4 separate regions of the Homo sapiens genome follow, and regions 2, 3 and 4 are each linked to region 1. Evidence: promoter capture Hi-C in 16 types of primary human blood cells and fetal thymus (Javierre and others, 2016). All regions are on one chromosome and are shown on one strand. Each heading gives the region's core, a stretch centred on a gene start or on the middle of the fragment in contact. The rest is flanking DNA. Distances are from core to core; before and after follow the strand shown.

Evidence for each region. The method cuts DNA at HindIII sites, captures the fragments that hold promoters and counts their contacts. A CHiCAGO score of 5 or more calls a contact.
Region 2: a contact is called between a fragment that was not itself captured here and the fragment with the promoter of GLDC in region 1, in 1 of 17 cell types (M1 macrophages). The highest score is 5.8, in M1 macrophages.
Region 3: a fragment that was not itself captured here is called in contact with the fragment with the promoter of GLDC in region 1 in 1 of 17 cell types (endothelial precursors); the score reaches 5.2 in endothelial precursors.
Region 4: a contact is called between a fragment that was not itself captured here and the fragment with the promoter of GLDC in region 1, in 1 of 17 cell types (endothelial precursors). The highest score is 7.2, in endothelial precursors.

Annotation. Positions count from the first base shown.
Region 1 is chr9:6,644,479-6,647,178 of GRCh38, reverse strand. It overlaps GLDC (glycine decarboxylase), which reads left to right and starts at 1,450. Exons shown (of 25, transcript NM_000170.3): 1 at 1,450-1,934; 2 at 2,487-2,565. The coding sequence starts at 1,680. RefSeq lists enhancers at 443-542, 593-702, 1,683-2,240 and silencers at 1,373-1,622, 1,693-1,892, 1,933-2,002. The HindIII fragment of the contact is 9,537 bases long and covers 1-2,700 here.
Region 2 is chr9:5,956,108-5,958,807 of GRCh38, reverse strand. The region is part of intron 3 of BRD10 (bromodomain containing 10); the gene reads left to right. Among named protein-coding and RNA genes, the nearest start is that of MIR4665, 50 kb to the left of the region's middle. The HindIII fragment of the contact is 1,604 bases long and covers 627-2,230 here.
Region 3 is chr9:6,070,720-6,073,419 of GRCh38, reverse strand. No RefSeq gene overlaps it. Among named protein-coding and RNA genes, the nearest start is that of RANBP6, 56 kb to the right of the region's middle. The HindIII fragment of the contact is 1,010 bases long and covers 907-1,916 here.
Region 4 is chr9:6,044,534-6,047,233 of GRCh38, reverse strand. No RefSeq gene overlaps it. Among named protein-coding and RNA genes, the nearest start is that of RANBP6, 30 kb to the right of the region's middle. The HindIII fragment of the contact is 2,474 bases long and covers 191-2,664 here.

The DNA.
Region 1 (2,700 bases), core at 201-2,700:
ACTGGAATTTTAAAAGTTCATTCTCTTGCTAAAACTGTCATGAGACAGCTGGAGATGGTACATTTACAAAAAATCCAGTTCTAGATGGCTAACTTTCAAAGTAAGACGACAGTGAACAATGTCTATCTTAATATCCTTTGTACTTTTGCTGGGCGCAGTGGCTCACGCCTGTAATGACGGATCACGAGGTCAGGAGATCGAGACCATCCTGCCTAAAACGGTGAAACCCCGTCTCTACTAAAAATAAAAATAAAAAATGGCCGGCCGTGGTGGCACGTGCCTGTAGTCCCAGCTACTCAGGAGCCTGAGGCAGGACAATCGCTTGAACCCGGGAGGTGGAGGTTGCAGTGAGCCAAGATCGCGCCACTGCACTCCAGCCAGGGCGACAGAGCGAGATTCCGTCTCAAAAACAACAACAAAATATCCTTTGTAGTTTTACACACACACGTATATGTATATACAGTACATATATTTAAAAAAACATATACACACACACACACAGTTCTTTTTTTTTTTTTTTTCCTGAGTCTCGTTCTGTGGCCCACGCTGGAGTGCAGTGGTGCGATCACATCTCACTGCAGCCTGAAACTCCCTGACTCAAGCAATCCTCCCACCTCAGCCTCCAGAGTAGCTGGGACTTCAGAAGCACGCAACCACGCCCCACTAATTTTTGTATTTTTTGTAGAGACAGGGTTTCACAATGCTGCCCAAGCTGGTCTCGAACTCCTGGGCTCAAGCTATCCTACCGCGTCGGTTTCCGAAAGTGTTGCGATTACAGGCGTGAGCCATAGCGTTACATGTGGTGGGGGGGAAGAGAGAGAAAGAGAGAGAGTGAGAAGAAGGAGGAGGAGGAGGAGGAGGAGAAAGAAGGAAGAAAGAAAAGAAAAGAAATATAGAGAGGGTGTTCAAATCTACTGTTCAAGTGCTTTCCATGTACATATAATCTCTTTTTAAAATCCCATCCAGCTCTGTTGAGATGAGAAAACTGAAGCTCTGAGAGGTTGAGTAACTTTATCACGCTCCCGCAAAGATAAAAGAACCGCCATCTGCCCATATTAATTTCCCTGAGATGAAATGTGACAGAGAAAGATACCTCAAAATTAAGGAAATGGAGAGCTTCGAGAATCATCTTCCATCTCCGCCGAGTCCCCCAGGAACTTGGCCCGGAGTCTTTGGGCTGTCCCACCTGATCTTGCCCCAGTGCGGCTCCACACCCTGGCGGGCGGCGTACGGAGCGTCCCGGCCCCCGGCACCAGCCAGCGTCGGAGTGGGTAGGACTGGAGATGGCAGCCTCCGGTCCAGGGGAAGCGGGACTCCACGGAAGGGCTGGGAAGAGGGTAGGAAGAGGGGGCGGGGGCGGGAACTGTTCCGCCCCCTCCCCCTCTGTCTACTTTCATTGGCCAAGGGCTTCCTGGCCCCAACCCACCTCCCGCCTCCAGGGCGCCGCTTAAAGTGTGCGGAGCAGGTGCCTTGGGTGGAGCCACAACTTTGCGCGAGTGTCTTGGTTGAGCGCAGCGCCCATTCATTGCCCGCGAGCGTCCATCCATCTGTCCGGCCGACTGTCCAGCGAAAGGGGCTCCAGGCCGGGCGCAGCCGCCACCCGGGGGACCGAGGCCAGGAGAGGGGCCAAGAGCGCGGCTGACCCTTGCGGGCCGGGGCAGGGGACGGTGGCCGCGGCCATGCAGTCCTGTGCCAGGGCGTGGGGGCTGCGCCTGGGCCGCGGGGTCGGGGGCGGCCGCCGCCTGGCTGGGGGATCGGGGCCGTGCTGGGCGCCGCGGAGCCGGGACAGCAGCAGTGGCGGCGGGGACAGCGCCGCGGCTGGGGCCTCGCGCCTCCTGGAGCGCCTTCTGCCCAGACACGACGACTTCGCTCGGAGGCACATCGGCCCTGGGGACAAAGACCAGAGAGAGATGCTGCAGACCTTGGGGCTGGCGGTAAGGACCTCCACCCGGCCCTCCGCGGCCTCCCCTCCGCCCTGCCCGGGCTCTGCCTGCGCGGCCTCCCGGCTCCTACCCTGAGCTCTGCTGCGCTCCGCGTGGTCCCCGCACCCTGGGTCCCGGGCCGTGGCGTGGAAGCAAATTCGTGCCTTTGGTCCTCGTGCCTTCTTACTTCTTAACAGCTTACTTTCTCCTGCACCCAGTCTTCGTGCCTCAAAAGTGTACATTTTTAAACCACCCCCAGCCCAAGTGGCCCTGTGGATGGACCTAAACTTTGCAAGAGGAGGAAGACCCCCTGATTAAGAGTGGGCTTACCGGTTAGCTCCGGTTGCAACTGAAATCCAACCCCGAGTGGCGGAATCTCCACCCCACTTCACGATTTTCTTTCCTCCAAATCATTCTGGCTTGCTCAGAGTTTTCCTTTTCTTTTAAAAAGAACCCTAATTAGGCGATTTCAATGAGGTTCCCACAAGGCTTTGTAGTCGCAAAACACAGAGGTGACTCTTTTAACTCAGAGGCACTTTCCTCTGCCTTGCGTTTTAATTTTAGAGCATTGATGAATTGATCGAGAAGACGGTCCCTGCCAACATCCGTTTGAAAAGACCCTTGAAAATGGAAGACCCTGTTTGTAAGTGGCCGGGAGGGCTCCCTTGGACTTAGATTATTCTGGCCTATTTGTCTTTTGTGGTTCCCTGAAAATCGAGCTCTGGGGTAAGGATTGCTCAGGACTGGGAATGTGTGGATTAAAATAAAACAGTGGCGG
Region 2 (2,700 bases), core at 179-2,678, 690 kb after region 1:
TTGAGTTTTTACTTGCAACAATGATTAATATCTTAGTATTCATTTATTTATTAAGGTTCCTAAGGCGAAAGTACAGAGGGAGGAGTGAATGTGTTGGGATAATTTTAAAACATGGAAAGGCTAAATCTAGGAAAGCATTGAAGTACCTTTTTTTTTCTGTTCTTTTTCTTCCTCCTATCCCTCCCTGAGAGACAGGATCTCGCTATGTTGCCCACCTGGCCTCGAACTCCGGGGCGCAAGCCATCCTCTCACCTCCGCCTCCCAAGTAGCTGGGACCACAGGCGAGCTGGGATCACAGGCATGCACCACCACACTTGGCTTAAAGTGGAAGTCTGAGTATGAGTAGCCCAGAGGTCTGAGGAGTGAAGACAGGAAAACCAGGTGAAGGAGAAGGGTAAAGAATGAGGAATAAGAAACTGAGAAAGGGGAACTGAAAGGGGGATGATAATCACCTTCTTATGTAAAGAAATATGCCATTTCTTTTATAAAAGGCATATTTCCAGATTCTAGAAAACTAGAGTTTTATTCCTCAGTTACAGTATAAAATATATCTTTAGTTATAATTTTCCCTCTCAGGTTGGGCATTCTTTTCTTAAGTTGTTCTAAGCATAGTGTTTTAGAAAGCTTCATTAGGGTATACTTTTGTAACATTAATTACTAAGGTTTATTATTAAGGTTTATTAATGTTTCCTTATGCATTTTCCAGGTACAGGCTGACACTTTCTGTTTTAGGCTCAAGAGTGGTATTGAAATTCTGTGTATGTTTTAATTTGACTTCTGATTTCAGCATAATTATAGGTTTGAGAATTTTATTCTATTTTATATGACCAAGTAACTTAGGGCAGTGGAAGTAAAAGGCCTGGGATATGATCAAGTTGAGTGATAAGGGAAGGGAAGCCCACTGGTAGTATGTAACTTGCCCTGTATATATTTTGTCCTGAAGCAAAAACAGGTTACCAAATAAAGGCATGATTTTGTAGTATCTCATGCTCGATTTTTAAAATAATATTTAATTTTTTTGAAGTGCTGATGTTTTTACTGAAGAATACAGGAAAATTTATACTGAAATTGTTTTTTTCAGGATATATACTGAAGGTATTAAAAAATAGTAAATGTACAAATCATCCAACCCTAATAAAAAGGAATGCTCTGAACCAAACAGAAGCAGATTACATCCCTTTCAAAAATTTGAAAGAATGCAGTATTTTACCATAAAAAGAGTACAGCTTTGAAGTGAGACAGACCTAATTTCACATGTATGCTCCTAGTGCATATTAGCTACAGCTCCTCCATCAGTTTCTTTACCTGTTTATAGCCTGTTTCTTTATCTGTGATAAGTGAGGTAATACCTACTTGGCTGTATTGTTAAGATTAATTAGAATAACAAATGCGCAGTATGTCACTTGGAGCTTGGCACATGGTAGGAATCAATAAATGGTAACTTAAGATATTTGTGCAGTAGAATTACATAATGGAAGGAGCTTAGACTTTGTAGTTAGAATCCCTGACTGTGGTGCTTACTTACTGTGTGACACATGAGTGAGTTAATTAATCTTTTTGATCTTCAGTTATCCAGTATTACAGTAGAGTTATTACCTACCTGGGAGGGTTATATTGAGAAATAAATAAGTTAATTTATACAGACCACTTTACTAAGTATCTGACACACAGCAGGTTCTCAATAAATGTTAATCTTCTTACTACCACTACTAGGTCATGTTGAAACTCTTTGGTGAATTGTTTAAATTATTTAAAATCGTTGTCAGTGTTTTCTTCACTATAAAGTAGACTTAAATGGACCCTCAGAATTGTAAACAGTTACCTGCATCCCTTTTCCTACCCCCTAGACTGTTGGTGACATTTCTGAAAAAAGTAGGATTCTTGTATTTAGGGATCACTTCTTAGAACTTATGTGTGCTAAATGCTGTAAATACAGAGTGAATAATGTGATTTCTGTCACCAATAATTTACAGTATAGTAAGGATGACAAACATAAGAACAGACAATTACAGTACTCTAAGTTAAGTATTACATTCATTGATTTGTGTACAAAGTAGAGTGGTAGTTTAGAGGACATGCATAAGAAGAACTGAGATGGAGTAAGTAAAAAGAATTTAAAGAAAATTAAAAGATTTTCTGTTTAGGCTTTTCTCACCATAGCTTAGCTAAAGCTAAAGCAATAGCTAACATTTATTGATCACCTACCATGTGCCTAGCAGTAGTATAAGCTTTTGGGGTGTTATAACCCATTTAATTCTCACAGAGTAGGTAATACTATTATCCCTTGTTTTACAGATGAAGAAACTGCACAAAGAAATAAAGCAGTTTGCTCAAGGTCTTGTATGTGATAGCTGTTATACATGACCTCTATAATAGTAGGTGGTTGTAGCAGGCACTCAAACCCAGGTAGTTTAGTTCTAAAACTCAAGCTTATAACCAATATGTAACATTACCTCCAATTTCCTAATAACATTTAAGCATCCTAATGACGTGGTGAACTGAAATACCAAGTAACCACCTTAGCTTCTCAGTCCATTCAAATAGAGTAGCTGCTAGAGTTAACTGAGAATTTAGTACCTGTGTTTAGTGCCTGTGTAACAATAAGATGAAATTCATGGGACTATCAAGGGTGACCTCTGTTGTGCTTATAAATGAATACAAAATCAAATGGCGCTTTTTTTTTAAGCTAATCAGAGTAGG
Region 3 (2,700 bases), core at 162-2,661, 570 kb after region 1:
CAGATCGGGGAGTCAGAAGGGAGACGGTTTTTCCCTGGAGTCCTGCCGCTGGACCCTTTTCCAACCGCTCTGGCCAAACTTCGTCTTCTGCTGGTTGATGGCCTGCTGGTGCCTGTCAGCATGCTCTTCTGCGGCGTGCTCTCCATGACCAGCTATTTGTGTCTTCTTCTGTCCAGCCACTTGTGTGTGTGTGCCTGCTAGGGTCTCAAGTTTTTATAGGCACAGAATGGGGCATGGCAGGCCAGGGTGGTCTTGGGAAATGCAACATTTAGGCTCCAAGGCAGGAGTGCCTGTCCTTCGCTAGGTCCTTGGGGGTGGATCCCTAGCCAGGGACCACGCCCTACTCTACCCAGCACTTCCCTTCCCCGCTTCCGCTTCCGTGTCATTTAAAGGGACGATGCTCTTCGCTTCTCAGCACTCCCATATCAGTTGTAATATGACAGGTGACAATGTTACAAGGCTGTGTAGCAAAATGTTTTCTGGAAGCTAGCACTGTCAAGGAGGAAACTATAGGAGGAAAGGTAGTTGTGGTAATAGAACAAATCTACTAGAAATAACTAACCATGTGGTCTAGGAGGAAAGGAAGGGGCAAAGGTCTGGGTGGAGTGAATGGGGTTTAGAGACAGTATATTAATATAAGAGTTAGCTACTTAGGAGTAAATAAGGAGGTCTGGTTGAGAGAAGAATAATGCACAAGCATTGTGACAGGGACAGTACAGCCCACTATGTAAAGGTCAAGGACACAGAATGCTATGGAGAAGTTGCAGAGAGATGGCCTTAGTTACAGAATTATGTAATATTTCCCCTGTCCACAGGCCAAATAAAACACAGAAGGTATACCCTTTGGCACCCTAGGCTTCTAGGTAAATAATATTTTTTCATAATGCATTGGATACCTACAAAGCTTTAGGAATTCAGAATAAATAAGGCTGAAATATCAAATTATATCAAATTATAATACTGTTTCTCAGCATGCATTCAACTTTCAGTTACAGTAGCTGCTTTGGAATAGATTTCCTCTTTTTTCTTTCTTTGCTATTTCAGATTTTGAATGTTTGAGCAGCAATCAAACCTAGAAAGCAACTCTCATGAACATTGTAGGCAGAACAAAGGCCTGAGGAACCACCTTAATCCTAGCTCCAGTTTGTGGGGGATCACCTTAAAGGTTCTTGCAATTTCGGCCAGGCATGGTGGCTCACGCCTGTAATCCCAGCACTTTGGGAGGCTGAGGTGAGTGGATCACCTGAGGTCAGGAGTTCAAGGCCAGCCTGACCAATATGGTGAAACCCCATCTCTACTACAAATACAAAAATTAGCCAGACGTGGTGGTGCACACCTGTAATTCTAGTTACTCAGGAGGCTGAGGCAGGAGAATTCCTTGAATTTGGGAGGCAGAAGTTGCAGTGAGCCGAGATTGTGCCATTGCACTGCAGCCTGGGTGACAAGAGCAAAACTCTGTCTCAAAAAAAAGAAAAGAAAAGAAAACTAGAGCTTTTCTCCAAATTATTACATTAATATAACTTTAGAATAGAAAACTGGAAAATACAGAAAAGTAGGAAGAAGAAAAAACTCACCCGAAGTCCTACCAATGACAACGTCTATTAATCTGATTGCATTTATTTCCTATTTCTTTAAATAAGATTAAAAATGGTTCTGACCCTACAGTATATATTTTACATCCTGCTTTTTTCAATAACATAAGATATTATATTAAAATTTACTAAAACTGGGTATTTACATGAATGAAAATTAATCTTGACCCACAACACACACCATTCACAAAAATTAATTCAAGGTAGCTCATAGCCCTAATACAAAAGCTAAGACTATGAAGTTAATCTATAGAAGCTAAACACTAAAGCTACAACTATAAACAAGAAAAGAGAGGAGAATATCTTTGCAATCTAGGCAAAGCTTTTTTAGAACAAAAAATGCTCTAACCAGAAAAGACAAAAAAAGATAGATTAGGTTCATCAAAATTACTTTTACTTTTTGCTCATCAGAAGATGCTATTAAACTGAAAAAATGCAACAGATTGGGGAAAATATTTGCAATTTATATATCTGACAAAGGATTTGTATCCAGAACGTATAAAGAATCCCTATAAAATTCAATACTAAAAGGACAAACAATCCAAGTTCATTGCCTAAATTCACATCAAGTAGGTGGTCAAGTGGTTGCAGGTATCTCTCAAAAGAGAGCTGGAAGGATTAGTTTGAAGCAGAAGCATCCTTGACAGAGAGGATTAGCTACAATCAGGGAAGGAAACAGGAGTGAGGGAGAGTCTCAAGACATAGTAAGCAACTAAAAAATCCAATAAATATAACTAAGAGTTGAATATACTTTACTTTGGCTAAGTGGTCTGTATCAGTCAGCTTTTGCCGCATAACAAACAACCACAAAATCTCAGTGGCATACAATGTCCATCTATTTCTCACATGTCTGAAGTTGGATGAAACAACTCTACTTCAGGACTTGGTAGCTGGGGTGGTCCTACTTCTTTGGATCATACTTCTTCAGATACACACTTCTTGAATCAGCCAAGGTGGCTGTGCCCCAGATGCTTCATTCTAGGGCTCAGAATGAAGACAGAGCAGCTTCCCTGGAGACATTCTGCTCATGGTGATATAAGAGGCACAAGAGAGCAAGCTTCACTACACAAACATATTTCAAGTTTTTCTTTGACACAGAAAGTTACAT
Region 4 (2,700 bases), core at 178-2,677, 600 kb after region 1:
GAGTTAAGTAGGTGTTAACCCTATCCAGTGCTAGAACTAATTTAATGAGTGGTGGGGAGTATATGAGTAGGAGCATATTCATTGGTCCAGCCATTATGACATCTCTATCACATTTTCTTTATTTTTAATGATACATCATTTTCTCCATTAAAAAAAAACAGGGGTAAAGATCGAGTAAATGCCACAAGCTTAGAATATTGCACTGAATTGTTATGTAAATCAAAGCAACATCTTTAAAACAAATCAGAGCTCTTAAGAAACTTTATATGAAAACAAAAAAAAAACCAATGAACATAAAGCCATATTTTTATACAAAGTATATATAGTGTGTACATATTGTGTATCCTCTTTTTTCCATATAAACATTTCAACATGTCTTAAAGTATCGTGGGTGTTTTTTCCAAGATGGCGGATTGGAGGCATCATTAGCATGCCTCTCCCAGTTGGAAAGACAAAATTGTGTGTAGAGATTCACACTGTGAACTTTATTTCAAGAAGCAACACAGGAACTTAACAGGAAAACTGATGGAAACCAGACCCTTTGAAAGAAGCGGCAGGCTGCAGCCTACACCATGAGCCAGGCGTAAACCTGAAAATCCCCAGAGTGTGAGCAGGGAGAAGCTGCCTCTGGGATATACATTTCCACCGGAGAACCTGGCAATCCAGGCCACAAGGGAAGGTTTTAACCCTACCCAGTGCTAGAGCTAATGCAGTGAACGGTGGGGAGCATATGAGAAGGAGTAGCATTGGGACATGCTGTGTGTGCACTCCCAGTCTCCAGTGGGGACAGAGGGAAGCCATTCTTGATCCTGCCTCACAGGGTACTTCACTTTAGAAGTCAGCCAGCTAATTCAGGCAGCAGTCACAGGACGAGAGAAGCTCCCAATGGAGATTAAGCAGGAGCTGCGTGCCCCTGCTTCTTGGGCAGACCAGGAGGAGTGTGGCCTGAAAGCCTCAATATCTGCCTCCATGGAGAAGGCTTATGGTCTGCGGCAGTTTTGAGTTCTGATCATAGGCCTTAAACCCAGTGAGCTGCTGCTAGTGGAACATTCCAGGTGCGAGACCTGCCTTGCCAAGTGCATGGAAACTAGGTGCGGCTTACTGCCACCTGCTGCTCCCCACTCCCCTTGTAGACTCTTCTATTCAGCAGAAGCAGCTGTACTCCCTCATGGAACAGTGCTCCAGCAGCCAGAGAACTGCTCTGATCCCCACTGGGGCCACTGCTTGCGTCTGCACACCAAGAACCAGCCTCTACCTGGCTTTGCCCCTCCACCAGAGCTAATCACCTAACACAAAGGACAGAAACTTTGGGGAGCCCTATGGCCCTGCTCATTGCCTGAGATACCAGAGTACTTCCCCTGGGTAACAGAAGGCAAGCACAAACGAAGGTCACATTTCAGGAAATACGTGAATGAAGGAAGAGAGGTAGCTTGGCACATGAGCACATTTTTTAGGAAGTGATGTGATGAAACGATCAAAGATGGAGGCCAGCTGATACAGCCACTACAGCATCTTCAGGCAGAAGAACACAGTGCTCAGGAAGGCGAAAACTTGTGCATGACCTCAGCTATCACAATTGCTTTCATTACCCTACTAACCAGGAGGTCCTAAGTCTGTCCGTGTGACCAGTTCATTACTACTACAGCTGGCATTTGAGAAAGCCAACACACCAAGGCTATTTATAACCAAAGAATCTCACAGAGTCTACATCACTCCCCAGCCACCTCTATCTGATCTGGTGCTGGTACCCACTGCTGGGAGACTTGAGGACAGGTCACATCATTGGATCCCTTGCAGACATTCCTTAGCACCGGCCTGGAGGATGGCAGCCCAACTGGACAGCTAGACACAGAGGAGCAGCAGCATTCACAGTAGTCTGGCCTTCAGGGACTCCTACTCCTGGGGAAAGGGGGGTATACCTTATCAAGGGAGTACCCCCATGGGACAAAAGAATCCAGGTGGCAAACCTTGAGTCCCAGGACTTTCTTCTTGTGGGAAGTTTATTTCAGCAGAGGTACAGATGCAGTGCTGAGCCCAGTGGGGGAAAGTCTATGACTCTACCCAACAGGCAGCCCTGGTGCTCATGAAGGGTCTTGGAGAAGGGGATTTCTTCTTCCCCTCACCCACCACTGCAGACACAGCTGGGGCTTCTCCCATAGGAGCTCAGCATGGGTGCAAACAGTAGACAGCCTTTTGGGAACACTTTAGGGTGACTGCATCCCCACAGAAGGAGTACCCTCCAGGTTCAGACTTGCATGAGGAATAGAGATCACCATCCCTCTCTACATGGAATATCAACATTCCTGCAAATGAAAAGAGGTGCCTGTCTGATCTGAATAGCCAGAACACTGGGTCAGGAGTTTGACTGGAAAGTGGATAGCTTTCCTGCTGGACTGGCAGGGAAGCTGAGGTGGCTCCCACTTTTCCTCCTGATAAGACCTCAGTGTGTTTCACTGAGAACTCCCCCAGCCATTTCTGTCAAGGCTGGGACCTCTGCCCACCATTGGGTATTGCGTTTACCCAACTGCTTTAGCCACAGCCAATGTTTAACCATGGACACCTGCTCTACTGGCCTGAAGCCTGAACTGTTCAACCCAGTAAATGAAATACTGGGGGAAAAATAAATAAATAAAAAGTGCACACCACTGGGGAGTGAGATAAGCTTCAAGAGGCCTCTGCCATTCCCACAGGAGACAGTGA